Regions from separate parts of the Homo sapiens genome. Here regions 1, 2, 3, 5, 6 and 7 are each linked to region 4. Evidence: promoter capture Hi-C in 16 types of primary human blood cells and fetal thymus (Javierre and others, 2016). All regions are on one chromosome and are shown on one strand. Each heading gives the region's core, a stretch centred on a gene start or on the middle of the fragment in contact. The rest is flanking DNA. Distances are from core to core; before and after follow the strand shown.

Region 1 (3,523 bases), core at 128-2,627, 3.3 Mb before region 4:
GAGCTACTTGGGTTATTTCTTCAGAGAGCAGGGAGCCTGTTTACCTGGGTTTCTCACAAAGATTCCAACTTCTCCTCTTTCCAATCAGGTTCATTTTTGTTTTATCTGGGCTGAGCTTCAGACAACCTTGGACTTGGTCCAAAGAGCTGCTTGAGTTATTTCTTCAGAGAGCAGGGAGCCTGTTTCCTGGATTTGTCACAAAGACTCATGATGCCAAGGAGTGCAGGTACTTTGGTGGCACCAAAGTCCATGGTGTTCCATGATCTCCCCCAGTGGTATCATTGCTTACTCTCCTCAGAAAGAATGACAGATGAGCCACCCAGTGGCACTCAAGGGATGAACATTTGCCCACTGTTATCAGGGGGTCTCTAGGATAGGAATATAATTTTCCCCACTCATTTTAAAATTTAATAAATCACTTCCAGCTCCTCACTTTACAAAAAAACAAAACAAAACAAAACAAAAAAACCCTGATAATTAATTGATCTACATTACCAGTATTTCCATTGTTCCATTCACATGTAATTTCACAATGCCTAAAGAGGACAAATACCGGTGGATGGGCTTTACTCAGTATGGATAAACTCCACTGGATAAATTCAGTGTGAATAAATTCCACTGGAGTACACTTAGGGTAGAATAATTCAAATTATACTTTAAAAATGATTGGCTCTAAGAAATCAAATGCAATTGAGACCTACATAAGGAGTTTTGTAGCCAGTAAGAAATTGCAAAAATATGCCAAAGAGGTTTGGTTTCATTAGAAATAACTTTTAAGAAATATTTTCTTGCATTTGTAGAAAATGACGAGGCTTCTGAGCATAGATAGTTGAACGAATTTCTGCTTCGTGAACCCTGAATATATTTTATCAGAAGGTCTAGAGAATAGTTGCCATATGTGAATAAATAGTGATGGGGAGGGGACATGGGACTCTAGTCCAGAAACACAAAGGCTAAGAGAAATATGGACCCCAGACCTGAAGTTTCCAGTTTCCAAAAGAGTCTCATGCTCAAAACACAGCCCTGAACAAAGAGCCACTGCACCTGAAGGATCCATACCATATGGACATGTGGGCTCTGCACTCTGATGACAATAACTAGAAGCATTCTCCAGTGCAGTGGCGATCACATTAGATCTTAGTGACTTTCCACTACAGTATCCAGGATGGGGGCCGGGCTGAAGAATGTCTGAGATAAGTATGTCACGATGGACAAACACTACAAGTTCCTATGGAAAGTTTACAACTTTCACTTGTGCACAAGTTTCTAGATCCTCTTTTCTACTATCTTCCACTCCACCTCCCACGTGTTATCACTTTTTCCTTCTCTATGGGATAGTCCCCATAGTGCACAATGCCTCAAATATTAATACCTGATGCTTGACCCCATTTCTGTTTCCTGTTAACACCCTTTTTCTTTGTTCTCCTTTCTTGTAAAACTATTTTGTAGCATTTGTTCTTGTAGAATTTTTTTCTTATTGTTCTTTCTTGAATCTGACAGAATTAAGACTTGCTACTACCACTCCACTGAAACCTCTCATCAAGGTCACCAGTGACCCCTATATGGCTAAATCTAATGGTCAGTTCTCAGTCCAAGACTTATTAGACCACTTGGTAACACTTGACAGAAATGATCACTCCCTCTTTCTTGAAACACTTTCTTCACTTGGCTTTTGGTCAGTTCTCTGCCTGAACTTCCATCTCCCTTGCTTTCTCCTAATCGTCAGGTCTTTAAATATCAAAGTATTGTGTAGCCATGATATTCACTCCATAAGTGAGCTCATATATCTTATGACACTTTATAATGTCTATGTGTTGAAGACTGCCAAATTTGTATCTCCACCCTCTCCTCTGAACTCCAGACTTGCATATTCAACTACATACTTGATATATCCTTTGGTGAGAACTTGATGTGCCCTAAACAGAACTCATGATATTGTCCTCAAATCCGTTCCTTCCCTAATATTCTCCATCTTAGTAAATGGCACCTACCACTTCTTCAGGTGAAAAACTTTGGGTCATCTTTTCTTGCCTCTTAGTCTCATACCTAATATCTAATCTGTCAGTAAATGTTGTCAACTCAATCTTCAAAATATAACCTGAATCTGACCATAACTCACCTTTTCTACTCCTAGTCCAAACCACCACCTTTCACCTAAACAAGTACAGTAGCCTCTTAACAGGTCTCTTTAATTTCACTCTTGCTTCCCTTCCAGCAATGGTCCATTTCCCTGTAGTAACCACTGTGATCATTTAAAAACATTATTAGATCATGTAACTCCCTTGCCTCAGCTTGCTAAAAATTAAATAAAAAATTCCCACCATAGTCCTACCTATTAAAGGACTTTTGATTACCTCTCCAGTTTAATTGCCTACAACTCTTCTGCCTGCTCATTCTCTTTCAGTGAGATCAGCCTGCCTGCTGTTCCTGAAATACACCAAATATATTACTTTTTCTTGGTCCTTATACTTTCCATTTCCTCATCTGGGGAAATTCTTCCCCCAGTGTCCAGTGGCTTATGCTGTCCCTTTATTCAGGTCTCTGTTCAAATGTCACCCTATTACAGTGGTTTCTGGAACTACCTGATTTAAATTCAAACCGTCTTCACCTTATCTGCCTGCACAGATCATAATTTGACATTATATGTTTATTATCTGTCTTCTCTACTAAAACGAAAGTTCCATGAGTACAGGTCCTTTATTTTATGTATTGCTCATTTCCAGTGCCTGGAAAGTGCCTGGGATATAATAGGGGATCAATAAACGTTTCTTGATTTAATTAATAAACAGGTAAATTTTCCAACCCATCCTGGAAAGATAAAACTCAAGAGCTCAAATTAAGTTGATTGAAAGACTAGAATTACTGAAGCATTACTATTTGCACATCTGAATTTGTAAACCGGGGGTCAGACCTACTACAATTTTAATTCTAGTTGGCCATTCTACCACAAGGCCCTCCCCATCTCAAAGCATCCTATCTCTATATTAGTTTTCCTGAAAAATATTGCTTTTATGATGTTACCTCCCTTTTCTTAAACCTCATAATGGTTATCTACCATCAACATTGAGACCAAACTTTTCTACTTCTGTTTTCAAGGTCTTTGCTAACCCTATTTATCACCTTGGCTGTGGGATTCAACAGAATTTTCTCCATTCTGATCCCAAGCACGGGCTATGCTTATTTTCATATTTAAACTTTGACTCATGACATCCCTACCACTCAGAATGCCTCCTTCCATTCAAATCTCACCTTTCCCTTAATCATTTTCTTAGTTCTCAGCAACTTCATGACCTCTTTATCCTTACCTTTGTACTTTACATACAGTGAACCCTTCCCATCTCTGAGTATGTCTGTCCAGTGCCTGACAATACTGAATATCTGTTAGACTCCATTACTTATTGATTGACAAATTATTTAGCTGAGTATTTGAAAAAATGTATATTAAATATGGTGAGTGCTTAGTTTATTTTCTCTGTTATGAAGGTTATTCTAAAAAAGTAAAATGATAGTCCAGTTTTGTTCA
Region 2 (3,548 bases), core at 593-3,092, 3.4 Mb before region 4:
AAGGAGACAGCTCAGAGCAGAGACTCTAGATTCAGGTTCAAATCCTGGCTCCCCGCTTACTAGCCCTTTGTTGGTAAGGAGTAACCTCTCTGTGATTCAGATTCCTCATCTGTAAAACGGCATCTACTTCACAGAGTCATTGTGAGGACTAAGCGAATTAATGCAAAATTACAGGTACGAGTTGATGAGGGCTTAGCCTTGCTTATTGGGAGGGTGTAGAAGAAGGAAAAAGCCAAGCCCTGTGAACAGACTGATAGATTGATGGCAGATCAAATACAAAGGGTGGGGCTCAGGAAGAATCTAAGTTTTCTGTGGTGGACTCATTCACAGACATGGGGAGATTGGAAAGGGGAAGCAACAGAATGGTTTTCTTACTAAGGATAGTGAGGAAGATGATAATTCTGTTGGGGAAAAGGTAAGACAGAGGCCAAATTGGGGAAATAAAAATCCTTTTGCATCTATCACTAAAAGTTATGTACATGTAGAAAGCTATCAATCATAGAATGGGTACCTAACTATCAAATCACAGACCTATTTGATTTTCTGGGTTTTTCCTTTTCTTTATATAAGTTTTGAAATATTTCAAGCATACAGAAAAAAGTAGAAAATAACATAACAGGCTAGTGATTACTCAAGGATAAAGTGGCCATTATATACACTTTTTGGCTTTGATGATATTAAATAATTTGTTTATATTAAAACAGGAGGCTATATAGATGGTCAGAGCTCACCTTCCTGGACCATTTTCCAATGGCTTCCAGGCTGAGAACTGATTGCTCTGCTTGGCCTGTGGCCAAGTTGTTCTCTAGTATCTATGAAGCCTCCCTACTACATAGACTCCCAAGGTCTTATCTTCCTTTATTTCAAGGACTTTTATGACTGAGTTATTCCTCTCTGGTCACACTGTTCACCACTTCGGATTGAACCTGCTTGTTCTGTTCCAAATACCATTTGCAAATTTCCACTAGGAATGAATCAAGACAGGTACATCCTCTGAGCAAGCTTATAATTTTGTGCTCTTTCAAACATATTCATTCATTCATTCATTCACTGAACAAATATTTATTGAGTATTCATTGTGTCAAAAAGTGTTGTAGCTTCTTGGGATATAATAATTGTGAACAAAATAGACAAAGGTGCTTGTTTACATACTAGTGAGGTAGACAAACAGCAAAGAAAAAAAGGTAAATAAATTGCACAGCATGTTAGAAGGTGAGAAATACACCAAAAAAGAAAGAAAAAGTAGAGCAGAGTGAGGAACCTCAAAAGTTAGGGAGTGCAGATGGCCGTAATGTCAAATCAGGGGGCTATTCACTTAGAAGATGAGATTTGAGCAAAGACTTGGAGGGATTGGAGGGAGTTAAGAAAGGAGGGAGGAGTGCTCTGGAAAAAACAAAAGCCAAGAATCTCTGGTGAGAGCAGGCCCTATGGCTCCAGCAGCAGCATTGCGGTGTGGCTGAGTGAGGTGAGCAGGAGCTTATTGCAGAGGAGATGAGAGGGAACAGGAGGCCAGATCATGGAGCATTTTATAGGCTCTTGTGGAACATGTAGCTATAACCCTGAGTGAAATGGGGAGCTATTGTGGGGTTCTCAGACAAGGAGTAACATGATCAGACTTAAGACAAATTAATTACTCTGGCTGCTGTGCTGAGAATAAAGCATAGTGGGAGGAGGAGAAGCAGGAAGAAGTTAGGAGGCTTTTGGTGTGAGCCAGGTGAGGTGATGGTGGCTTATCCATGGTGGTGATGGATGAGATGGGGAAAGCAATAAGTATGTGTGTGTGTGTTTGTGTTTTAAATTGTGTTGAAATATATATATCAAAAATTTACCATTTTAACCATATTTGAGTGTACAGTTCAGCAACATTAAGTACATTCACATTGTTATAAACCATAACCATTCTCTATCTCCAAAACTTTTTCATCATCCCAAATGGAAACTCTTGAATAAACAGCCTTCTGTATCCACAGGTTCCACATTGCTGGGTTCAACCAACTGTGGAACAAAAATATTTGAAAAAAAAAGGATGGTTGTGTCTGTATTGAACATGTACAGACATTTTTTTCTTGGTATTATTCCCTAAACAATATAGTGTAACAATGATTTACATAGCATTTACATTGTATTAGGTATTATAAGTAATCCAGAGATGATTTAAAGTATATGTGAGGAAGTGTGTAGGTTACATGCAAATATTATGTCATTTTATATAAGGATCTTAAGCATCTATGGATTTTGATATCTGTCGGAGGATCTGGAACCAATCTCCCATGGACACTGGGGAAGTCTGTATTTTTTAAAGACACAGTCAGCAAACTTTCTTGATAAATTGGCCTGTGTGTGAGAGAGAGAGAGGAGTCAAGGATGACTAAGATTATTTACCTGAGCAACTGGAAAGACGGAATTGCTTTTGACAAGATGGAGAAGGGTGATAGAGCCTGTTTGGGGAGGGAGGAAGAAAAAGAGTTCAGATTTCATCTCCTGTTTACTTGAAGTATCTACTAGACATCCAAGTGGAGAATTTGAGAATGCATTTGGGTAGGTGAGTCTGGAGTTAATTAGAACTGGGCTAGATGTGTGTATTTTGATGTCATCAGCTGATAGATAGTTTTTAAGCTGCAGGAGGGAATGGGATAATCAAAAGAGTGAATAAGACAAAGAAAAGAAGAAATCAAAAGCTTTGCGGGAAATCTAGCATTATTCAGAGGTCAGGGAGGTAGAGAACAAAGCAGCAAAGGAGACTGACAAGGAGCAAAGCCAAGGGATATGGTACCAATGCTGCCAAGAGAGAGGTTCAGTAAGATGAGGACTTAGAGTTGACCGTTGGATTTAGTGGTGCATGGGTCACTGGTGACCTTAACAAGAGCAGTTTTGTTTTTTTTTTCTAGAAGTGGTAGAGATGACAGCCTGACTGTAATGGAAGGAGAGCAGTTGGAGACAGCAAGTAAAGAGCCTTATTTCTAGGGCCGGAGGACTGGCTCATGCCTTTAATCCCAGGACTTTGGGAGGCCTAGGTGGGCAGATCACTTGAGATCAGGAGTTTGAGACCAGCCTAGCCAAAATGGTGAAACCCCATCTCTACTAAAAATACAAAAATTAGCCGGGCATGGTGACAGGTGTCTGTAATCCCAGGTACTCTGGAGGCTGAGGCAGGAGAATTGCTTGAACCTGGGAGCCGGAGATTGCAGTGAGCCAAGATGGCACCAATGCACTCCAGTCTCGGCGACAGAGCGAGACTTGGTCTCAACCAAAAAAAAAAAAAGAGACTTATTTCTGGATTTTACAATAAATAGAGAGCAAATCAATGAGGGAAATAAGATCACGCGTAGTTTGTTTTGTTTTTAACAGCTAAAGTAACTGCATATATATACGTATATATGTATTTTATATATACATACGTATATACGTATATATGTGTATATATACGTATATATGTATTTTAATAGCTGAAGTAACTGCATATATATACATATATACGTATATATGTGTGTATGTATATATACACATATACGTATATACATATATACGTATATATGTACATATATACG
Region 3 (3,431 bases), core at 479-2,978, 3.4 Mb before region 4:
ACAAAAAGACAAGAAAAGAACAGACAAAAATGTATATGCTTATCAAACACATTCATTTGGGATCATAATAAACTCAGAAAAATTAGATCCACATTCCATGAAATAGGAAAATTATTCCTGTTTCCACTATCAAAACTACAGGGTCTCCAAACAGAAGTATCCAGCAAACAATGCAAGAATTGTAGTGAGAGTTAAAATTTAACCAAAACACCATGCTTGTAAAAGTCCTCTGATAACTATGGTCATTAACCACTATGATGAGGAAAATAATTGACAGGACTCTGGCAATTTGTTCTGATGAGAGATTTAAAAAATCTTCTATGCTTCATTGCAGTGTTACAAATGTAAAACACATTTATGTTAGTAGGAAATCAAACTCACTGTGTCTTAGGTTTTTAAAATAATAATGTGACAGTCTATTTCCTATTTCTACTGTTATTTTATAGTCTTCTCAAGTTATTTTTGTGATTTCAGGCAAGAAAAAGTATTGTTCTCACTTTATGAATGAGTAAACTGAGCCTGAGTGACTTGACCAAAGCTTCCCAGGAGCCTCAGAAATAATTTGGGTTCATCTAGACTTTTAGAGCCCAGGTTGGTCTAGATTTGTGTGTTTGCTTTTAGATATCCATAGCCATATGTTTATTATGGTTTAAGTTTATCTTGGTCTTAAAATACCTACAGAAGCCAAGTTCCCTGTTGCTCACATACCTTATGAGAACACTCAAAGCACCCAGAGGGGTGACCAAGGTGGCAGGTGCAAAAGCATAAGCAGCAAAATTTGCAGCCTCTCCTGCTCCCACTAGAAAGCAAGCAGAGATATTGATATAAAAAATGGGCTTACTTGTCAGAAGAGAAAAACAAATGACTCATGCAAAGCAGTGGACTTTTAACCCAAATACATGGGAAGATCTAGCTAAAAAGAATGATGTAACATGTTTTATAGCAGGTAGGAGATAATTAATATTAAGAGATGCAGACAAACTGTAATACCAGGTGATAAACTCAAAAGATGCAAAAAATGGTGACAGATGAGTACTCATTTTAAATGGCTTTCAATAGAAATTTTTAGCTACTTCAATATTGAAGACATATTTGGTGACTCTAATGAAATCTAGTAGAGGTAGCTTTGTAGTAAGCAGAGAATTATTTCACTTGCTCAAGAATACCTACAGCTTTGTAGGTTACCCACAGAAACCAAAACCAGCTTGGAAAATTAGAATGGTTAAATCTGGTGTGTAGGTAGGGAATAGCCAGAAATACCTGCCATAGGCCCATGAAGTTAGATATCCCTCTATTGTAAGTGATCTATAAGCAAGTAACAGTATCTCAGTAGCTTAACGAGATCCAGGCAGCTGTTTTAAAGTCATGATATGCTCCTGAATGTAATCTTTTTCTTATCTGAGGAACTCTAGACTTGCATGATATAGTGTGCTATAAATAACTTCTAGAGTGAGAGAAATCCCTTCAAGAGCTGGGCTCTGGTACTGGGGCCAAGTTATTCTCACAGAACACAGTGGGAAACTTGCCCACAGAATGTAGTATTTCATGCTGGCAACTACACCAGGCAAATGCTTATTGTAGAGAGAGAAAGGAACACCAGCATGATTTTTTTCTTTTTCCCTTTGTCTGGCTGCTACGCTACATCCCCCCAAATCTATAGGAGTATTCACCATTAGGAAAACATCATTAAACAAATCTAAATTTACAGAACAGAATAATTAAGACATTGCTATCATCGAAAGAATCACGGCAAGGCCGGGCATGGTGACTCATGACTGTAATCCCAGCACTTTGGGAGGCAGAGGGGAGAAGATCACTTGAGGTCAGGCGTTCGAGATCAGCCTGGCCAACATGGTGAAACCCTATCTCTACTAAAAATACAAAAACTAACCGGGTGTGGTGGCAAGCGTTTTTAATCCCAGCTACTCTGGAGGCTGAGGCAGGAGAATCGTTTGAATCTGGGAGGCGGAGGTTGCAGTGAACCGAGATCACGCCACTGCACTCCAGCCTGGACGACAAGAGCGAGACTCTGTCTAAAAAAAACCGTGGCAGTTTTCTTGGAATATTAAGGTTTCCTTGGATACTTTATATTATTTATATTTTTATCTTTATAGATAGCTTTCCAGGAAAACAACGACTTCATGATTAAAGTACTGTATATATATCACTTACTTAATCTCTAATGTATGCTTTTCTCTCTTCAATACTGACATAAACTTTTTTACACGGTGAAAACAAAATTGCAAATGTAGTCACATAATACTCTCCTCATATTTTCATTATAAAGTATGGGTAGAGGGTGGGGAGATGCAAGTAAGACAGAAAAAGAGAAAGATCCAAATACCTATCTGGAATCTTCCCAGACAGCCCTTGTCAATTTTTATTCAAATAAAGAAAATGGATGTAAAAGCACCCTAAAAACTGAAGGGGTGGCCGGGCGTGGTGGCTCACGCCTGTAATCACAGCACTTCTGAAGGCCGAGGTGGGTGACCTGAGGTCAGGAGTTCGAGACCAGCCTGGCCAACATGGTGAGAACTTGTCTCTACTAAAAATACAAAAATTAGCTGGGTGTGGTGGTGTGTGCCTGTAATCCCAGGTACTCGGGAGGCTGAGGCAGGAGAATCGCTTGAAACTGGGATGCAGAGGCTGCAGTGGGCCGAGATCCTGCCAGTGCACTCCAGCCTGGGCCACAGAGCAGGACTCCATCTCAAAAAAAACAAAACAAAAAACAAAAAAACCCCAAAAAAATCCACAATAAACAAGAACTGAAGGGGCTATACATATTTAAATTCTCTTTATTAATCATCCTTTTAGATTCCACCATTTATTAAAGAAAAGGTACCCAGTTCCTTCTCATAACAGGATCTTACAAATACTGAAATGTGTTGCTTGGTTTGGGGAAATTCAGGGAAGCTTTAAGACTCCTGGCTACAGAGGGAATTTATGATGCCCTTTTTGAGGGGAGCCTCCGCTTTGGGATTTAAGAAATTTCACTTAGTGGGGAGACTGAAGTCAGCAAAAGTGGCTGAGGGAGATGAACACTGCCTTCTATTTGGACATCACATTAGCATTTAGAAAGTGCTTTCAGATCCTGTAAAGTCTCGTTTAATCCTCACAGCAGGTCTGGGAGGAAGGAGAGTGCTGACACCCTTCATTTCTTCTCCATTTGTTCAGTACCAAGCAGCCACAGAAGCCTTTCACTTATCCGTGTTGTCCTGGCAAGGAAACTGTACTCTTTCTTGAGAAAATATGCAGCTACAATAGTTGTTCTAATTAGGAGGTGGGAAAATATGAAAGAAAAGTACTTTTCTCTATTGTTATGGTGAAGAAAATACAAGAAGTCTGTGGTTAAAATGTAATATTTCAAAGGTCAACTTTTTCCCTTGCATTCCAGGACAGTACTGAGAGCACAGGGGGTGGGAAATAAGAGT
Region 4 (3,523 bases), core at 87-2,586:
CTGCATATTTCACAATCAGCAAAACCATGAAATTACAATGAAATATAAAATTCACGTGAGCTTTGTTTTTTAATAGCCCCATAAAGACAGATAATAAAAGCACAATTATAGCTGAAAGTCTGCCGAAAAAAAACTAATTCTGATGTTTGCCCTGTAGATTTTCTTTCCCTTCAGTTCAAAAGGTATAGAGAATTGCACCATCTTTATACTTCGAATTGCAATATAAATCCATTTTTAAAAACACAGGCATATTAGGGCCAAAGTTGATTAATTTAAGGTTTTGTCTTTCTGCCTACTTATAGCTTGCCTTCAGTCACTTCACTTTTCTGACTAAAATGTATCCATTCACAATTATCAGAGTTGTTGAACCTCCCACCCTCTCCCACCAGAGTCAAAATTACACAGGTTTGCTCTGGCTGAGGTAGAATGAAATAAAACTACAAAGACAGACCGAGAACTTCCTGCATTCTAGGTATTAGTCTAAAAAAGTCCACTTCTCACATCACACAAATCTCACAAATTAGCCACTGGATGTTTGATCAGTTCTGCATTCAACAAATGAAGTAGGAGAGTGACAATGTAGTAACTTGCCCAGGCCACATAGCTACTTAATTTGCAGGAAAATGGACGTTATATTAATATTTACTAGCAACTTGCTTAGTAGGCTTTTTAGAATTAAATAGATGAATAAACGCAAAGCACTTCGACCAGTGGCTCGCGTAAACAAATCAACATTTGACATTGAAAATGAGAAAACCTACAAAGTTAGTGACTTGCCCAAGGTCACACTAGTGAGGAGTGGAGGGTCGGGAACCTGAGCAGTGCTCACACTCTCCGCTCTGCCTCCCTGTACCAAGTTGCAAGCAGGGTTCAGAGCTAGTCCCAGAAAGCCCTATACATGTCCAAGATCGCATGGGGCACTCCAACGTTTGAAAACTTGGCTAAATCAGATTCCAGGGGGCAGTCACCTTGAATTCTGCGGAGCTGTAGAGCCTGTCGGTAGCCCAGGACTCTGGAGCAGCCCCAAGGGTCGGCGCGGACCGGGGCCCCGGGGCCACCAGAAGCGCGGCCCCAGTGGCTCGTGGCGCGAGAGCGCGTGCGCACCCCCAGCCCCGACCCACGAGGGTCCACATGACCCGGGCGGCGGAGGCGTCAGGAGAGGGTACCCACACGCAACAGCAGCATAGCCCGTTTTTTTTCGAAGGTACCCCCCGTAGGATCCGGTGGACAGGACTCAAACAGATCCTGTGAAGCGAAGACAATGAACCCCGGGGAGCTCTGCCCAAGTACCAGATCCGGAAGCAACCCGAAGCGGCGGCGCAGCTTGCCGACGTCTGCACGCCGCACGCTGTCGTGACATCAGCGCGTCTTGGCGCCGGGTAGTGGAGTGGTCACGTGAGTGGAGGCTTTCGATTGACTCCCTAAAACGCAGGGTGTAGACAGAGTACATATTAGCTTATATTGTCTGCTGAGTGCTGTGCCAATTCCTTTGCATTGTCTCTTTCTTACTACTGCCCTGTGGTGTGTGTACTGTCAGTTCCCCCAAACTACCTCTGGAAATCCGGACCGAGTGACTTGCCCAGGAGCTCACAGGTGGGGAGCTGTGGAGCCTGGAGTGCCGCCCAGGCAGTCTGATTCCCGAACCAGGAGCCGAGGTCTTAGTCCAGGGACTTAAAGATGCTATTATTAGCACAACGTTGAGACTTAGCCTTCTACCTAATGGCAAAATAATAATGGCACTTTTAAAATCTGGAGGTCGAAATGTATTCCCCATGTTGTCAGTGACAGAGCTAATCTTGAAGTGCATCTGAAAGGAAACGGGCCATAACATTGATTGCAATACTGAATCCAGGAAGGTTTTGGCAAGAAGTAAAGGTGGGAAAAAGTTCCATGCTGGACCCCCAATGTTTCCATCGTCATCAAGTTACCACTTCATGGAATGAGCTCTGACGAAGTAAGAATGGGGGATAAAACAGGTGATAGGAGGATTGCATCCAGTGTTTGTCTCCCACTATTTCTCTTGCGCTTTTCTGGAATATCCAGAATTTGGTGCGAAGGAGGGAGATGACAGCTGTGTTCAGTTCATCATTGTGACTGAAGACAGAATCATTCGTATTGTTTCCAGAGCCTTTGAAAGTTTCTTCATTTGGAGGATTTCTTAGGATCAAGAATTCTGTACCAGACTCAGTTCTTTCTTGGATTTTTTTTTCCCCCCTGAGATGGTGTCTCGCTCTGTCGCCCAGGCTGGAGTACAGTAGCGCTATCTCGGCTCACTGCAACCTCCGCCTCCTGGGCTCAAGCGATTCTCCTGCCTCAGTCTCCTGAGTAGCTGGGATTACAGGCGCGCGCCAGCAATCATGGCTAATTTTTGTATTTTTAGTAGAGACGGGGTTTCACCATGTTGGTCACGCTGATCTCGAACTCCTGACCTCGTGATCTGCCCACCTCGGCCTCCCAAAGTGTTGCGATTACAGGCGTGAGCCACCGCGCCTGGCCCTTTCTTGGAACTTTTATGAATTAAAACAGTACTTGATAGACGACTAATTCTGTCACACTTGTAAGAGAATGAATTTAACAACTATCTTGAAGTAAACACAATAATTTATATTCAATGTTGCCCAGACTTCCATAATTTGCACAATTACCCTCATTAATTTTCACCATATCCTGTCAAAGATAAAGGCAGACACCAGTTAAAGTGGTGAAGACAGATTTTTATTATAGTGATATACTAATGCAATCGGGAATAAGATCCAGAATGAACTAAACTACAATTTGTCCAGAGGCGACTGTATTTTAAAAGGAGAATGCGGGAGTAGGGAAAGAGAACAACTGGGCTTGATCAAAGTCAGGGAAACGGAAATTTACAAAAAACAATGGCGGAAGAATGGTCCATTTGAAATCCATCTGGGTTGTAAACTGTTGCTTATGGAAATAAGGCTCCTACCCTTCCCGCAGACACTAGGAAATGAGTGCTACTTTCACATGTTGGCTGGAACAAATAAATTATTTTGTCAGTCTTGAGCTTTCTCAGACAGAAATTTAAGGGGGCTTCATCTTAGAGATGCAGCCTTGAGCTGTTATAAACTATATGAGTTTGTTCAAGTCTTTTAATGTGTGGGCAAACCGGTAGGGGAAGGATGTGGATGAAATCATTTGTGCTGAGGGTCTGTAGTTTTTATAGGCAAGTTTGAGGCTTTGCTGATAAGAGGGCTTAGAAGAGTCAGGCTAGAGTTTGGTCAAGAATCTTTGTCAATCCTCATACCGATATTATGTACTTTATATTTTTCTTTAACTTACCTTTATATGTAAATGAATTCTTTTTAAAAGAAAACGTAGATACCATTAATGGAGAAAGCATGATGAGCTGTCATAAGAGTAACAGTAAATATAACTGTAGTGAATAAAAAATGTGATTCAATTGTAGGTTTGGTCTGTCTGGATTACAAAAGGGAGATTAGCAGATATTAGAAAAGAATTTAAAAATATTAGCCTCAAACTGAGATTTTTCTCTTTGACCTAG
Region 5 (3,756 bases), core at 256-2,755, 3.5 Mb before region 4:
GCATTTTTTTGGTGGAATTAATAAGTGTGGGAATAATTTGCACTGATGAAGCAGAAAGGAAATCTTGTTAACTGGTTCTCAGATTAAATTAAGTATATATTGTGATGGTAGTAATTCTCTCCACTAGGTGGTAGTATAGCCTGTTAAATACACTGTATTTCCTGGTGTGGATTAGATTTCTAGAATCTTTTGTTTTCACAAAAACATATTTGGTGGTGAGGTTCTTAGTATGTCCATGTCTGCAGTGTTTTTCTTCTCTTAATTTTTATAATTTAATAGTATTATAAAATACCTTTTAAAGGTATTTAGTTTATTTTTTCTCTCTTCTCCCTCCGTCTATCCATTCATTCATCCATACATCCACCCATAAAAAATCAGGTGCCTGCTCTGTGCCAGGCATAATGATAAGCTGAACCATATAGAGAATAAGACCTACAAGTCCTTGCCCGCATGCAGCTTACATTGAGGAAGAGGGTGAATCAGAAGACCTGATAAAGTTACATGATCGAGCATGGTCGATACTGGTAAACTGTGGCTGTCAGTCTGACCCAAACCTCATTTGGGTTTCACATTTTTAAATGGATGAAAAAAATGAAAAGAATATTATGACATGTAAAAAAAAATCTGAAATTCCAATGTTGCTGTCCATAAAAATAGCGTGATTGAGACACAGCCTCGCTCATTCATTTAGGTGTTACCTGTGACTGCTTTCCTGCTACAGATGCAGAGTCAAGTAGTTGTCACGGGGACTGTATGGCCTGCCAGATCTGAAATATGTGTTATCTGGCCCTTTACATAAAAGTTGACTGATCCCTGTAATAGAGATAATTTGGGGTGGTGCTGAATGATGATGCAGGGCAAGAGTGAGGGTGGCTACTTGATCTGATGTTCAGGATGACCTCTTTGTGATAGGCAGATTTGACTGGAGACGAAAAGGTAGGAAGTAGCCAGTGTAGGTGAAAATAAAAGGATAAACTATTTCAGGTAGGAAGAAAAAGTGAAAAAGCTTGAAGTCTGGGACACGTCTGGCCTGCTCAAGGAACGGAAAAAGCGCCAGGGTAGCTGGCCAACGGGCAGCGCCAGGAATGCTCATAAATGCAGGCAAAGACCAGGCCATGTAGGGCCAAGTTTAACTCCTAAGGAAACTCAGGCCCAGGGAGATTAGAAAACTGTTACTGTCAGAAATGGGACCAGAACTTCCAACTCTTAGGATATTAATTACCCAATGCTCTTTATTTGCTTTTATATACAGATACTATATATTTGACAGGCTGTCTGCCGCTTTCATCTGTTCAATCTTCATATGTTAGGCTTTCAGAAAATCTGCACTTTTGTATCAACCACTCAAAAACCTCTTTATACCCTAAATTCAGACTCCACTGGCTGACAGTTTGATCCAGCCCACAGTGGCATTGTCTGCCAGCCAGCAGCTGGCTTTGTGCCGAGTCACCATCTTTGTCTACATAGCAAAGGATGTTTGTGCAATTCTTCGAAAATTTTCTCATGGAACCTTTTAGAAATTAATGGTATATTCACACACAATACAGAGATACATTCCTTTTGTAAATATGTGCTGCCCACCTTACAGAAAGGGCTGAAGTCTTTTCATCTACCAACCCTAATCAAGGATTCTCCCCTAAAGTTAGCTACTGTTACCAGTTTTTGTATGTTCTTCCAGAAGGACATTGTATGTTCACATAGAAAAATTATATAGTATTGTTTTGAGTGTATGTATGTATGTGGGGATGTTATGTATAAATACATACTCCACCATTTACATGTGGCATTTTGTGTTGTGTTTTTGTTTTTGTTTTTTTGCATTTGCTATTTTCATATGCTGTAGTTTTAAATTGTGCTCTGTGGAATTGGAGGCCTGAAAGCCTGTGTGTTTCTAGATGCTTTATACCACTTCCTCTGGAGCAGCTCTGCTTTAGATTTTTTACATATGGGGCCTTTGGGTAAAATTTTATTTAAAGAACAAAATTGCTTACAAAGAAAAGCTTGCAAACTATTTTATGATACCTTGTCTCTACTGCCTTATAAAAAGAAAGAAAAACAGAAAAATGAAAGTGCAGATGGTAACGTGGTGATGGATCCATCTCATGCACTTAAATTAAGCTGAGAGGAAGTTGGAAATCACCAGGTGTGGCCACTGAGGTGAACATTTAGCTTCAACCGGATGCTTGTTGGACTTCAGTCAACTGTGTTTTTGATTGCAAGGGGAAAAAAATGAAAGAGCAAGTAGAAAAAACAGATTGTTCTTCAGAGGTGTAAACCCATGGTGTGTCTTACTCTAGGTATGTTCTGGATGATCAGTACACAAGTTCTTCTGGTGCTAAGTTTCCTGTGAAGTGGTGTCCACCTGAAGTGTTTAATTACAGCCGCTTCAGCAGCAAATCAGATGTCTGGTCATTTGGTAAGATCCATGTTTCCTCATGTCCGTCCGCCCTGAGGAGAAAGTGGATACATCCATTTGGTAATCCTTATCCTTTTCCAGGTGTTTTAATGTGGGAAGTATTCACGGAAGGCAGAATGCCTTTTGAAAAATACACCAATTATGAAGTGGTAACCATGGTTACTCGAGGCCACCGACTCTACCAGCCGAAGTTGGCGTCCAACTATGTGTATGAGGTGATGCTGAGATGTTGGCAGGAGGTATAGATTTTTTGTGTGCTTTCTTTTTGAATCTCTTAGGGATTGGGCTTGGTAGATGGATAACATGCAGTCTTTATAGCCTAGTGAGGTGGTGCATCTTTATAGTGATTTCAAGCTCTAGGTAGGAAGCCAACCCTCTCAACTCAAGTTCTGAATAACGGGAAGAAGAATGTAAAGATGTGGAAAATGCTAATAACTACCTCGATACATTCAGGCTGCTTCCTCACTTCCAAGTGGGACTCCTTCCATGGTTGCCTGAGATAGGGACTTGGGGAATAAGCCTGGATAAGTAGCTCTTTTTTCATTGGTTCACTTGTAGAGTTGAAGTATTATTTTTTTACCAGAGTTGGTTTCTTTCTCTAAACCTCAACTTTCCGAGGTCTTTGAAAGTATTGAAATGTTACCTCCTAAAAGAGATTAGATACCAAATGACTTCTGAAAGACAGTAACATTAGCTCACATGTATTATGTACCAGGCACTATACTTAGTGTTTTGGATTTAGTTCTCAAAACAACACTTTGAGGTGGAGATACTTTGACTGTAGCCACTCTGTAGATGAGAAGATTAAGGGTCATGAGGTTGCTGCTTGCCTGGGGTCACTTAGCTACAGAACAGTATAGGCCTGTCTGATTCCAAAGCCCAGAGTCTCAACCACTTGCTGTACTGCCTCCCAAGAGCATTGATTGGGATGGGCAGAGACATTCTGGGCAGGAAGTGGTGCTAAAGGGAGAGAGAACAGCTTGAGCAAAGGTAAGGAGGTGGTTATAAACACAGTGTGCACAACAGTGGAGACAGTGGCCCTATTTAACAGACAGCCCATGTGAGGGATTTTGTGGGGAACAAGATTGGGTAACAAGAGGGTCGGGAAGTGGCAGATTATAGAGGCTCCTACAAATTTGCAGGACTTGATTTCACAGGCAGTAAAAAGATCTATCAGGGTCTTGAAGAGAGACATGAAAGCAGTGTCTTAGAAACGTTAGCCTAGCAGCAGTACATGCAGGGTAAATTAGGGTAGAGACAAGACCCCTTTGGAGATGCCTGTATGTCCTAGTCCCAAAGCAGTGAAGTCTCTCTGTAATATGCTGTGTTTAGGAGTTGGA
Region 6 (3,579 bases), core at 260-2,759, 3.7 Mb before region 4:
AATACAAGAAGAAAGTGAGCCTCAGAGTAACTTGCTCAAGGTCATACTGCTAGTAAGTGGCAAAACCAGGGGCGAACCCAGGAAAGCTCTTAACTACCTCAGAACACTGCAAAGTTCCAGCCCTGCAATACCAGAGTCTATGAATGATTTCGATTTCACTGTTAGAAGTTTTAATTTCAATAGAGCAGAGACATTTTAGCTAAAAGTTAAAACTTTAAGAAAAATGAATTAAGACAAATAATTGCCCACACACATCTTTATAATAAAACGAGAGGAAAAGCCTCCCATGTCCTATTTATGAAAGTGATATTAAGGTGGGGGGGCCACAATTTCATCAAGAAGTGGCTTATGACAATATAGCTTTGGTTTAAATTTTTAAATAGGACTCTTTTTCTCTGCCCCTAGAAGGACGTGGAAATGAAAGATGGATGTGATAACTGTCAATTCAGAGCTCTGCAAAACGCCAGACTCAATTCTTGTTTTAGAAAATAAGAGCCAGGGCTCGTTCCACCCTTGACTCTTCACACAGAGTAACAAAAAAAAAAAAAAAAAAAAAAAAGCAGCACCATCCTCTGCCCTCTCTTCACACAAAGCAAGGTTTACCCCACTACCCAAAGGGGAGTGCTGATTCATACGGTCTCCCCATCCCCGCCAGAAATGGGTCCCAAACACCAACCGCTGCATAGACGTAGACGACTCTGGTCTGCCCCTGACCCCCACACCTGGTGATACCTCATCAAGCAGACCCCTCTCCTACATCCAGAATGCCCAGGGCCACCATCCGAAAGCCAGTATCTTACACAAAGCAGGATCCCTGCCTACAAAGCAGTTTCCCACCTCCGACTCCTCCCCAGGCGAACAGCCCTTCTCAAGCTGCCCCAACCCACAGACCCCAATAGGGTCCAGCACTCAGAAGGTCCACAATCCAAAGGACAACGAGCTACAACCCTGTTACTTGCGCACGCCTCGAACCCCCAACTCCAGCTGACGTTCCCTCTGCCAAAGCAAGAAAACCACAAGTCGCCACAGGAGAGCGGACCCGGCTACACAAAGCGAGGCGCCCGACCAGAGGGACCCTCAGAGGACGCTCTCCGCCCCCGGGCCCGTCCCCGCCCAGCTCCTGCCCGGCGCCTCGCGCTCACCAGCTCTCCTCCTCCTCCTCCCAGCCTGACAGGCGCTCCAGCTCGTCGGGCCGCAGCGGCTCCACCTCGTCCAGCAAGCCGCCCTCGCCCGCCGCTAGCAAGGAGGTGGCGTCCCGCAGCTCTTCGCTACTCGTCCGCCTCGGGCCCGACCCGGGCCCGCCGCCCGACTTGGCGCTGAGGCCCAAGGGGAAGCCCCGAGGAGACGCCGCGCCGGAGGAGGGAATGGACGCGCCGGCCCGAACCGGGCTGCCGGGCCCAAGGGAGCCGGCGCCCTGCACGGCCCCCGAGCGGCTCCTCAGCTGTTCGTTCTGCTTCTCCAGCTTCTTCACCAGCTCCTGCAGCTTCCGCACCTCCTGGTCCGCGTTCACGTTGGAGTTAACGTCCTCCATCCCGGCCCCGCCGCCGCCGCCGCCTCCGCCGCCCGCTCGCTCTCGCAGCGACAGGGAAAGAGACGGAGGAAAGAGGCGTCGCCGCCGCTCACTCTAGCCGAGGCGCCGGCATATAGCAGGACCAGGCCCCACCGCCAGGGTCCCCCCACCTCGGGTTCCAAAGCGCCGCTGGCCCCAGCCGAACTGCCTCATCTGCGCCGGCTCCGGGATTGGGGGAGGCGGCGCCAATATCCGGCCCCTGCCGCCATCTTCCCTCCGTCCCTCCGCCCCCCGCGGGCCGGCCCAGTCGGTGACCTCAGAGCGTCGGGGGTGGACGCGGCCGCCGGCGGGCGCTGAGAGGACCCGGCGCCAGCTCGCGGCGGGGCGGGGCCACGGACGGGGCCTATGGGGCGGGGCCGGTGCTTGAGGGGCGGGGATTAGGCCGGAAGGGGCGTGTCGGCGGATGTGGGACGCGGCCGGGCTGGCTAGGGAGGGTCCCTGCAGAACGGGAGGCCAGCAGAAGGCTCGCGGCGGGCGGGGCTGAGGTGGCTAACAAGGTCCTCGAACAGCCTCGCCTGTTGGTCTGGGCGTGTGGGCGTGTTCTCCACCCCTTACAGGGAGTGTGGGACCCGCGGGCCAGTCTCGCCCTTGTTCCGGGCCGGATCTCGAGTGGGCGCTCAGCCCGGCGGTGGAGAGACAGTTTACTTTGTTCAGCAAATATTTAATCGATGCCGACTTTTAATTGGAGATTGTCTCGGCTGGCAGGAGCCTCTAGACTGCCTGTGTCCTGTTTCTTCCCCTGAAAATAAGAAACCCCAGTTTCAGACAGTTAAGAGAGGTCTAAGGTCAAAATAATCATAATTTCTTGAGTGCTTCCTACTGGCCAGACAGTGTGCTAAGCACTTTTAAAGGCATTATCTCATCGGTTAAAACATAGTTTTCCCGACTTAAAGTTTACAGCACACTGGGGCGGAAGCGGGGGATAGTAAACCGCTTCTCTACTCCCTTTCTCCGTTTATTGACTCACACTCTGTTCTTTGGATCACTTCCTTCGGAAAAAGTTCCTCGTAGTGTGTCTTGACTTTTTTAAAAGTTGTATGTTAAAAGTAGTTAAACACGCTGACAGATACTGAAGAATGAAGAAAATTGTAAGAATGTGAAGTCTGCCTTTAGAATGCGGCAGGAAACCTAAACAAAACTTAAATGCTTTGTTTTGATCACATTATCACAGTCGTTGGTCTTCAGAGGTCAATTGTGAACGGCTTTGGCTTGTGTTTGCAGCTTTTCTTCAGTTGCCGCCTCCACCCTTAGTTTAATAACAATGATCCAGTCCTGTTACACCTGAGTGTGGACTCATGCCATGACTGACTTGCTTCTACCCTTTAGCTTTTCTAGTGCCATATTCTCCGCCTGCCATATCTGATTCTTTTCTTAAATCCCATACTCTCTCATTCAGGAAACCTCTTCCCAACAATTCCACAAAGATCTAATTATTCTGCATATTCTAGCACTACGTGATCAATAGTTCTCAATAGGTGTTTGCACTTTTTTTTAAATTGCTTTTTTCTCTAAGAATTATTTTTCGTTTGTTTTTGTCTGTTTACTTGATTTAAGGACACTTCATTTTTGCTTCCCATGTCTAGTACACTGACACAGTGGACACTCAATACTTGGTTTGTTGAAAGTTAAGTAGACTATAAGTTCTACTTAAAACCACGTAGCTATTTATTCGTAGCAAAAAACGTATTTGTGTTAAAAGTTTGCTGGCTAACTATAAGTCGAGTATTTTTCTAGCTATACAGACCTAGTCAAAGGATGTGATTGTTTGCTAACATAATTGTCAAGTAATATATATTATCTGTGTAATGCTCATCTAAATATCATTGCTCTTTCTGACCAGTCTGAACTTGTTGCCGGAGGGTTAAAAATCATGACTACTTCACGTGTAGCAGTTTTCACTTGCATTCAATGCTTTGTAAAATAGATTCCAACTAGTCAGTTTCTATAAGGCGAACCCTTCAAATATACTCCTTGAAAAGAACAGTTCACCGGACATTATGAAGTTAGCA
Region 7 (3,758 bases), core at 1,105-3,604, 3.7 Mb before region 4:
GTGTTTTCTAAAACACAAATCTGACTTTATTAGTATTCTTTTGCTAAAAATTCTGTGCCAGTTTCCCTCTGCCCTTAAGATGGAGTTTTTTTCTAAAAATGATCCCCACAGCTCTAGAGACCTAACCAATGATTTAACTGTTGTAGTTCTTCTTTAGCTTCATTTCTCACCTTCCTCCACCACACATATTTAAATAGCAGCCATATGGAATTAATTTCTATTCCTGGAAAGCTCAACACTTTTGCTTCTAGGTCATTTGTGCATGTTGTTCCCCTTGCAACAAGTTTCATTCCACTTTTTTGCTTACCTCACCCTCCCCTGCTCAAGTTCATCCAGCTCTTCTCTATTTTCTATTGGGTATCAGCTTAAATTTCAATTCTTCAGGAAAACCTTCCTGGAACATCTCCAGTAAGATCATATTAAGTGTCTCCACTATGTACAACATTGATGCAAAATGTTTTAAGAAAGAATCTTTGTAGACATTTAGATTGCCCTGTCAAAAAGGAAATTCTATCCCTTACGCCCATTCTAATAAGAGACTATATTTTATTCATTTTTGTCCTGTTTGAATTTTTTGAGTTGGTATTTATAATTTGAAAAGAGACATTTAAAAATGTGTTGGAGGCAATAAAAATGCTACACATGAACTTCAAACATTATGCTAAGTAAAAGAAGCCAGTCACAAAACATCGCAGATTGTATGATACCATTGATATGGAATGTCTAGAATAGGCAAATCTGAGACAAGTTGATCAGTGGTTGCCTGGGGATAGATGAGGGGGTGGAGAGAAGGAATGGGAAATGACTACTAATGAGCACAGGGTTTCTTTTCAGTATGCTGAAAATACTATAAAACTAAATTATGGTGATGGTTGTACTATTCTGTGAATACGTTAAAAACTACTGAACACTGAAAACCACAGTACACTTTATTTCTTATCTATTTATGTTTTTTTTAATTTTTTTTGGAGACAGAGTCTCACTTCATCACCCAAGCTAGAGTGTAGTGGTACAATCTCAGCTCACAGCAACCTCTGTCTCCCAGGTTCAAGTGATTCTCATGCCTCAGGCTCCTGAGTAGCTGGAATTACAAGCGTGCACACCACCATGCTGGCTAATGTTTGTATTTTTGGTAGAGACCAGGTTTTCCCAAGTTGGCAGGCTGGTCTCAAACTCCTGACCTCAAGTAATCCACCCACTTCAGCCTCCCAAAGTGCTGGGATTACAAGCATGAGCCACCCTGCCCAGCCCACAGTACACTTTAAACGTGTGCATTTTATGGTATATAAATAACATCTTGATAAAGCTGTCAAAATGTGATAGGAATAAACTGGCCTTTCAAAATGCCACTTTTTCCCTTAGAACAATCATTACAAGGGAACTAACCACTATTTTTTTTTTTTTTTGAGACAGAGTCTCGCTCTGCCACCCAGGCTGGAATGCAATGGCGCGATCTCAGCTCACTGCAACCTCCGCCTCCCAGGTTCAAGCGATTCTCCTGCCTCAGCCTCCTGAGTAGCTGGGATTATAGGTGCGCACTACCATGCCCAGCTAATTTTTGTATTTTTAGTAGAGACGGGGTTTCACCACGTTGGTCAGGCTGGTCTCGAACTCCTGACCTCGTGATCCACCCACCTCAGCCTCTCAAAGTGCTGGGATTACAGGCGTAAGCCACCGTGCCCGGCCTAACCACTATTAAATACAATTTAAGTATACTGTTAAATACTGAGTTATTAGAAATGTAATTAAGAATAAAGTTATATAAAGCTTACAATAAGAAGTCATATTTTGGCCCATATGTCACACATACCTGTATAATATGGTGATTAAAGACAACTAAGAATATAACTATTTCTTTAAGTGTAATAACTTTCAGTAATATGGAAATGTACAAATATAAGAAATGATAATAACCTCCCTTTCTCTACCAAAATTACACTCCAAAATTATTTACAATTTGGAGTATGTCTCTCCAGACTTTTCTTCACATTGTTAATATATTTCTTCACATAGACATATATTAATAAGTAAATAATGGGGAGAGGAAGGGAGACAGGAGTTACTTTGCTGAATCTGTGGTAACCGCAGTAATCACTTTTCATATTGTAGCCAGCTGAAAGTAGGCTACTGAAGCCAAGGACAAAAATGATTTAAATTTAAGATAAAAATAAAAGTTATATTAAAAGCATTATTGAAATAAATTTCTTTAGATGCAAATTTTTTACAGGCTGAGGAAAATAATCAGACTTTTACTACCCCTAAATCATCCCCCTCTACCTATTCACTGAGTAAGGTACATTCAGTGCAAAAGAACAGACACTGTCTTCACAACGTTCAATGCAGAATCCCCAACACAGACACTTATACATGTTCAAATATTTGGATCTGAATTCACACTGAATAAAAAAGCAATATGAAAAGAGATAAAGGGAGGATACCAAAGTAAATTAAAGTGGCCACTTTGAGATTGTAATTTGTTTCCATTTTAATAATTCTATCATTAAAAAAACTTTAATAAAAGTTTATCTTATTATCTTTAGGCTGGGCGTGGTGGCTCATGCCTGTAATCCCAGCACTTTGGGAGGCTGAGGCAGGCGGATCACCCGAGGTCAGGAGTTCAAGACCAACCTGGCCAACATTGTGAAAATCCATCTCTAGTAAAAATACAAAAATTAGCCAGTCGTGGCTGCGGGAGCCTGTAATCCCAGCTACTCAGGAGGCTGAGGCAGAAGAATCGCTTGAACCCGGGAGGAGGAGGTTGTAGTGAGCTGAGATCACACCATTGCACTCCAGCCTGGACGACAAGAGTGAAACTCCATCTCAAAAAAAAATAAAAATAAATAAAAAAATACAAGTATCTTTGGTTTTACTCACAAGCAAATATAATTTAATAATTCTAAACCATTAGGATACATTGCTTATAATGCTTTAACAAGCTTTGTTGGGCCGCGCGCAGTGGCTCACGCCTGTAATCCCAGCACTCTGGGAGACTGAGGCAGGCGGATCACCTGAGGTCAGGAGTTCGAGACCAGCCTCAACATGGAGAAACCCCATCTCTACTAAAAATACAAAATTAGCCGGGCATGGTGGTGCACGCCTGTAATTTCAGCTACTCGGGAGGCTGAGGCAGGAGAATTGCTTGAACCTGGGAGGCGGAGGTTGTGGTGAGCCAAGATCGCGCCATTGCACTCCAGCATGGGCAACAAGAGTGAAACTCCGTCTCAAAAAAAAAAAAAGCTTTGTTAGTCAATGTAACAGTAATTATTATAATTTATACTGTATCAAATGCTCATTACATGTCAGGCACTGCTTCAGTGTTTTAAATATAGTAACTCTTTCAATCTTCATTACAAAATTATAAGATATGTATTATTATAATCTCCATTCTACAGATGAGGTCACTGAGACAAGTGAGGTAAGTAACTTGTCCAAGGTGGCACAGCTATTAAATGGCAAAACCAAAAGTGCTCCAGAAGCAGTACTCTTAAATATTATACTTTACTGCCTAATAGCATTGCTAAAAAAGAATATAAAAGATTCCTAAGTTAAAGACTTTAATAGGGCCAGGCGTGGTGGCTCACACCTGTAATTCCAATACTGTGGAAGGCTGAGGTGGGAGGGTCACTTGAGGCCAGGAGTTCAAGACCAACTTGGGCAACATAGTGAGACACTGTCTCTACAAAAGTTTTTTAAAAACATCAGTGGGGCCGGGTGCGGTGGCTCATGCCTGTAATCCCAGCACTTTGGAAGGCCAAGTC

What was found. Contacts are between HindIII fragments. The CHiCAGO score rates a contact against its expected background, and 5 or more counts as called.
Region 1: a contact is called between a fragment that was not itself captured here and the fragment with the promoter of GUF1 in region 4, in 8 of 17 cell types (total B cells, non-activated CD4 T cells, fetal thymus and 5 more). The highest score is 11.5, in total B cells.
Region 2: a contact is called between a fragment that was not itself captured here and the fragment with the promoter of GUF1 in region 4, in 1 of 17 cell types (naive CD8 T cells). The highest score is 5.4, in naive CD8 T cells.
Region 3: a fragment that was not itself captured here is called in contact with the fragment with the promoter of GUF1 in region 4 in 1 of 17 cell types (naive CD8 T cells); the score reaches 7.6 in naive CD8 T cells.
Region 5: a fragment that was not itself captured here is called in contact with the fragment with the promoter of GUF1 in region 4 in 1 of 17 cell types (total CD4 T cells); the score reaches 6.3 in total CD4 T cells.
Region 6: a contact is called between a fragment that was not itself captured here and the fragment with the promoter of GUF1 in region 4, in 3 of 17 cell types (monocytes, total CD8 T cells and total B cells). The highest score is 8.8, in monocytes.
Region 7: a fragment that was not itself captured here is called in contact with the fragment with the promoter of GUF1 in region 4 in 1 of 17 cell types (monocytes); the score reaches 9.0 in monocytes.

What each region holds. Positions count from the first base shown.
Region 1 is chr4:47,927,675-47,931,197 of GRCh38, reverse strand. All of the region lies in intron 1 of LOC101927157 (a long non-coding RNA gene), which reads right to left. Among named protein-coding and RNA genes, the nearest start is that of NFXL1, 15 kb to the right of the region's middle. The HindIII fragment of the contact is 7,796 bases long and covers 1-3,523 here.
Region 2 is chr4:48,120,206-48,123,753 of GRCh38, reverse strand. All of the region lies in intron 1 of TXK (TXK tyrosine kinase), which reads left to right. Among named protein-coding and RNA genes, the nearest start is that of TXK, 12 kb to the left of the region's middle. The HindIII fragment of the contact is 1,676 bases long and covers 1,005-2,680 here.
Region 3 is chr4:48,030,361-48,033,791 of GRCh38, reverse strand. NIPAL1 (NIPA like domain containing 1) reads right to left here. Exons shown (of 6, transcript NM_207330.3): 4 at 709-799. Among named protein-coding and RNA genes, the nearest start is that of NIPAL1, 15 kb to the right of the region's middle. The HindIII fragment of the contact is 2,375 bases long and covers 541-2,915 here.
Region 4 is chr4:44,676,233-44,679,755 of GRCh38, reverse strand. GUF1 (GTP binding elongation factor GUF1) reads right to left here and starts at 1,336. Exons shown (of 17, transcript NM_021927.3): 1 at 969-1,336. The coding sequence starts at 1,133. RefSeq lists a silencer at 998-1,157 and an enhancer at 1,229-2,117. The HindIII fragment of the contact is 9,672 bases long and covers 1-3,523 here.
Region 5 is chr4:48,137,564-48,141,319 of GRCh38, reverse strand. It overlaps TEC (tec protein tyrosine kinase), which reads left to right. Exons shown (of 18, transcript NM_003215.3): 16 at 2,298-2,416; 17 at 2,498-2,655. Among named protein-coding and RNA genes, the nearest start is that of TXK, 5.2 kb to the right of the region's middle. The HindIII fragment of the contact is 994 bases long and covers 1,009-2,002 here.
Region 6 is chr4:48,339,692-48,343,270 of GRCh38, reverse strand. SLAIN2 (SLAIN motif family member 2) reads right to left here and starts at 1,742. Exons shown (of 8, transcript NM_020846.2): 1 at 1,143-1,742. The coding sequence starts at 1,531. RefSeq lists silencers at 1,262-1,571, 1,712-2,051 and enhancers at 882-1,795, 2,202-2,321. The HindIII fragment of the contact is 7,807 bases long and covers 1-3,579 here.
Region 7 is chr4:48,357,802-48,361,559 of GRCh38, reverse strand. All of the region lies in intron 1 of SLAIN2 (SLAIN motif family member 2), which reads right to left. Among named protein-coding and RNA genes, the nearest start is that of SLAIN2, 18 kb to the right of the region's middle. The HindIII fragment of the contact is 1,169 bases long and covers 1,770-2,938 here.